Regions from separate parts of the Homo sapiens genome. Here region 1 is linked to region 2. Evidence: promoter capture Hi-C in human tissues and cell types (Jung and others, 2019). All regions are on one chromosome and are shown on one strand. The core of a region is centred on a gene start or on the middle of the fragment in contact, and the rest is flanking DNA. Distances in the headings are between cores, read along the strand shown.

Region 1 (2,700 bases), core at 66-2,565, 53 kb before region 2:
AATATCTCTTAGAGATCCTGTTTTCAATTCTTATGAATACATACCTAGAAGTGGGGTTGCTGGATTGTATGGTAATTCTATTTTAATTTTTAATTAATTAATTAATTAATTTTTTATTGAGACAGGGTCCCACCCTGTCACCCAGGCTGAAGTGTAGTGGTGTGATCCCGGCTCACTGCAGCCTCGACCTCCCAGGCTCAATCAATACATCTGCCTCAGCCTCCTGACTAGCTGGGACTACAGGTATGCACTACCATGCCCAGTTAATTTTTTAATTTTTTATAGAGACAGGGTCTTGCCATGTTGCCCAGGCTGGTCTTGAACTCCTGGGCTCAAGCAATCCAACTGCCTCGGCCTCCCAAAGTGCTGAGATTACAGGCATGAGCCTCCATACCCAACCTGTTTTTAATTTTTTGAGAAATTGCTATTCTGTTTTATGTAGCAGCTGTGCCATTTTACATCCGCACCAACAGTGCACAAAGGTACCAATTCTGCACATTCTCATCAATGCTTATTATTTTCTTTTCTGTTGTTGTTGTTGTTTTGGTTTTGATAATTGCTATCATAATGGTGTGAGATGACCTCTCATTGTGGTTTCGATTTTTACTTCTCTAATGATTAATGATATTGAGCATTTTTTTATATGCTTGTTGGCCATTTGCGTATCATTGGAGAAATGTCTATTTAAGTCTTTTCCTCATTTTTTAAGTTTTTTGTTATTGAATTGTAGGAGTTATTTATATATTCTGGATATCAACTACTCATCAAATGTTTAATTGCAAATTTTTTCTCCCATTCCATAGGTTGTCTTTTCAGTCTGATTATGTCCTTTAGTGCACAGAAGTTTTAAATTTTGATGTAGTATAGTTTATCTATTTTTACTTTTTTTTTTTTTTCAAGACGGAGGCTTGCTCTGTTGCCCAGGTTGGAGGGCAATGGCACAATCTCAGCTCACTGCAACCTCTGCCTCCCAGGTTCAAGGGATTGTCCTTCCTCAGCCTCCTGAGTAGCTGTGAGTACAGGCACACGCCACCATGCCCAGCTAATTTTTGTGTTTTTAGTAGAGATGAGGTTTTGCCACATTGGCCAGGTGGTCTCAAACTCCTGACCTCAAGTGATCCAACCTCCTAGGCCTCCCAAAGTGCTGGGATTACAGGTGTGAGCCACCGCACCTGGATTTACTTTTATTGCCTGTGCTTTTGGTGTCATAGCCAATAATTCATTGTCAAATCCACATTTAACTTTTTAAACAACAGCCAACGTGTTTTCCACAGTTGTTACACTACTTTACATTTCTGCCTACAGTGTTTGAAAGTTCCAGTTCCTCCACATATTTGCCAACATGTGATGTGAACTATCTTATTAATTTTCATCATTCTAATTGGGGTGTAGTGGTATCTCCCTGTGGTTGTAATTTGCATTACCCTAAAAACCAGTGATGTTGAACATCTTTTCCAGTGCCTATTTGCCATCTGAATGTCTTTGTCAGTGATGTGTCCATTCAGATCTTTGCACATTATTCTACTAGGTTATTTGCTTCCTTATTGTTGGATTTTGACACTTTTGGATACAAATCCTTTATCAGATATATGCTGTATTCATATTTTTCCCAGATCGTGGCTTGTTTTGTAATTTTCCTAACAGTACTTTTCAAAAAACAGATCTTTTAGTTTTGATGACATCCGTTTATCAAATTGTTCTTTTGTGAATCATACCTTTGGCATTATATGTAAGAAATGTTTGTCTAATGCAAGATGACACAATTTCTCCAGATTTATTCTAGAATTTTCATTGTTTTAGGTTTCCTACTGAGGTATAGTATTCATTATTAATTTTTAATATATTGGGAGATATTGATCAAAGTTAATATTTTTACATAGGGATATCCAATTATTCCAATATGATTTGTTGGAAAGATACCATTTATCCACTGATTGCCTTTGAACATTTGTCGAAAATCAGTTGCTCATATATGTGTGGATCTATTTCTGAATTTTTTATTCTCTTCTATTTATCTATTTTTCTATCACTATGCCAAAACTACACTGTCTTGACTGCTGTAGTTCTACATACGTTTTAAGATCAGGTTAGCCCTCCAAATTTTAAAATATTTTTCTGATTTGTTTTGGCTACTCTAAGCTCTTTGCATTTTCATATAGAATTTAGAGACAACTTTTTAATTTTTACAAAACACACACACAACTACTAGGATTTTGATTGAGATGGATTTGAGTCTACAGTTTGTGGACAATTGACATATTAACCATACTGCATACTCTGATCCGTGAACAAAGTAGATTTCCATTTGGTTAGGTCTTCTTTAATTTCTCTCACCAAAGTTTTACAGTACTTAATATACAGATATTTTGCATTTTTGCCATATTAATTACTGTATTTCATATTTTAATGCTATTATAAATGATATTATTTAAATTTTGATTTCAAATTGTTCATTGTTAGTATATAAAAATCAAATTGATTTTTATAAAGTTATGTGTCCTGCAACCTTCCTCAACTCACTTACTAGTTCTAGTAGCTTTTAAAAGAGATTTAATTGGATTTTATACATAGCGAATTGTGTCGTCTACAAAGAAGGACAATTTTACTTTGTTCTTTCCAACCTGTATGCCATTTATTTATTTATTTACTTATTTTAACTGCCCTGGCTAGAACCTGCAGTACACTGTTGAGTAGACAAAG
Region 2 (2,700 bases), core at 30-2,529:
AAACCTCTTCTACTGATAGAAATGCAAAATAAAGAAAGTTTGGAGCTAAAGCTCTAGAGACACACTTAGAAGCCACACATACTCTTTCTTTGAATTTTTCTTCTTCAACTTTTGGCAAACTTGTCTGTCAAGACCATGAACAAAGGCAACTTTTTCTTGGTTTTCCTGATTGCCCCATCAGGAAGAGTGCTGGTAGCTTCCCTTTGTGTACCTCTCACTATAACCCTTTAACTGGTTTATGCACAACTCACCACTCTCACCCTCCAAACTGCTGCACGGCCACCAAAGGAAAGGAACCAAATGGAATCAGAAAATACTAGACCTTTTTTTACTCAATGCACCTCCCCTAGAAAGCCTTCCTGATCACGCTAGGCTTAGAGAGGTGGTTATTGTCTCAGTGATCCCAAACTACCTTTTTCATTCAAACCTCTAGTAGAGCACATCTCACACTGTAATCGTTTGTGGTTTACACGACTGTCTCCCCTGCTTTCTGGGAGGATACAAAGGGCAGAGCTGACTTCCAGTCATCTTTGTACACGTGTGCACATGGCACACATAATTGGGAAATGAATGAATATGATACATTTAGCTGACACTGAAGTGGAGGAAAACTTTGAACGTTTTAAAATCAGCACCTTACTGGTAACTAGGGCATCTGTGCTGTGCTTCCAGTTCACCAAGAGCCCAGATCCCTGTGTCTCAATCTCTTTAAAAAGACAAAGAAGGACTTTAAAATAATCTGTAAACTCTGCTCTAAGATCCCATATATGTAGAAAGTTCAGGCCATTCTCCTGCTTCCCATAGTGTTCCGAATGCTCAGCACTTTAAAATCTCAATTGGATTTTTGCATTTCCAAGTCACGCTCCACGTTTGCGATTCTGAGCCTGGGTCTGACCCAAATATGACAGTTCATACAGTTTCCTACTGCAAGAGCTGGGAAAACAGCGATCTACCTTTCGTGTTAAACCAGGCTTCAGCAGCGCCGCTCACCTGGCCACGTCTGCCCTGTTCATCGCTGTACCCGCAGATACCCGGCTCCGTGCCACGCACGAATGGTCAGGGGTATGAGACAAAGAAGCGGCTCTACATCGGGCGGCTTCTGAGAGTCACGGGGACCGCGCCGCCTGCCGCCGGGAAGAAGCGCGGTCCTGGCCAGCGTCGGCGACCCGAGCTCCGGCCGCGCCTCCCTCCGCGTCTCGGCCCACTCGCGGTGGCACTCGGCACCGAAGCCGGACACTCTACTGCCCGTTAGACCAAAAACAATGGCCGAGCCGGAAGCGAGAGAGGCCTCGACTTCCGCCCCCTCCGGGATCCCGGAAGTCTCGTTTGCGAAGGTGGGCGCGCGCGTCCCCGCACCCGGGAGAGCTGGCAGGGCTTACTTCTCGGCTGTGCCCGGCCACCTGCCGCGGGCGGGGTCGGGGTCTCGCGAGGGCCCAGGCCACTCACATCCCGCTCTCAGGCCATAGTCGGGGGATCCAGACGCGTCCCAGCTCTACACCTTCTCCTCCAGGTGTCCTTGGGAAAGATACCCAACCTCCAAGCCTGTTTTCTCATCTGAAAAAAATGCAGAGCATAATGCGTACCTCACAGGGCTGGGAGCACCGCATGAGGTTAACAGACACTACATAGCAAAAGGCCTGGCATATCCTGAGCAGTCAGTTATACCATGTGTGATGCCCAATCTGAAGTCTCAGTGAAGGGAGCAGCAAGCATCTCCCATCTTAAAAATGAAGAAGCATGTCTAGAAATTGTGATATTTTGGCCCATAAATGTGGTTAATATTTCGTAAGACAGCACCAGCATTCTGGTGTCCATGTAGAGGTTCCTAGGGAGACCAAGAAGCAGATAAACTGAGAAGGTGTGGGGACAGTTTGTAACCTAGTAGGCAGTTGTCTAGCCTCTGGGTGGCAGGTGGTACCCAGGTGACTTTCACTTTGAAGAATGGTTTGCATACAGAAGGAGGATATGAACTGGTCCTTGTTACAAACATGGTTGAGCAGGCCCTGTGTGTTAATGACCACGGGTGAAGGGCAAAGGGTGTGATGAAGTTAACTGTGTATCTTTATTATAGCACAGGAGATAGGTCCTTTACAGGGCCCAAAGTAAACAGTCTCCTGGACTGTCTAGGGATGGCAATATTTCAAAGGTGCCCTGGGCCTAACCCTGGCCCTGACATATGTTCCTCATATATCTGTGTGAGCCAAGATAGAAACAAAGACACCAGAAGTCCTGCTCCAGAGTTTCCACAAGCTTAAAAGTAATCTCTTGGAGCAATCTTTGTCCATTGATCCTAATGGTGGTTTCCTGTCATCAAGGTCCCCCTCTCCATTTGGAAATCTCACAAGGAGGTTTTGGCTATTTAAAACCAGGAACCCCAGCCTCTGCCTGACATTGATGCTAGACATTGCCTACTGGCAAATCAAGGCCTCAGAAGCTTAGGATTCTTGAGGTGGAAGGCAAATCAAGGCCCCAGAAGCTTAGGATTCTTGAGGAGGAAATCTCCCAAGGCCAGGCTAAATGCTCTCAGACCTGATTTTCAGGTCTCCTTGACCACGTGTTGTCCTGCAGTCCTGGCTTCCTATTATAGGAGACACAAGGATTTGGAAACCAAGATTGAGGTTTTTTATTCTTCAGAGCTGTTTCATGCACAAGTGGTTGGCTTTCATTGGCTGTAAGGACCAGGCCCATCTGAGCAGTGTG

Evidence for each region. The method cuts DNA at HindIII sites, captures the fragments that hold promoters and counts their contacts. A contact is called where the count stands out against the background at its distance.
Region 1: a fragment that was not itself captured here is called in contact with the fragment with the promoter of ZKSCAN7 in region 2 in 2 of the 25 tissues and cell types used here (mesendoderm cells and thymus).

The regions. Positions count from the first base shown.
Region 1 is chr3:44,607,062-44,609,761 of GRCh38, reverse strand. All of the region lies in intron 2 of ZNF660-ZNF197 (ZNF660-ZNF197 readthrough), which reads right to left. The region is part of intron 2 of ZKSCAN7-AS1 (ZKSCAN7 ZNF cluster antisense RNA 1); the gene reads left to right. Among named protein-coding and RNA genes, the nearest start is that of ZNF197-AS1, 16 kb to the left of the region's middle. The HindIII fragment of the contact is 7,164 bases long and covers 1-2,700 here.
Region 2 is chr3:44,553,772-44,556,471 of GRCh38, reverse strand. ZKSCAN7 (zinc finger with KRAB and SCAN domains 7) reads right to left here and starts at 1,279. Exons shown (of 6, transcript NM_001288590.2): 1 at 991-1,279. RefSeq lists silencers at 1,226-1,365, 1,476-1,525. The HindIII fragment of the contact is 4,885 bases long and covers 1-2,690 here.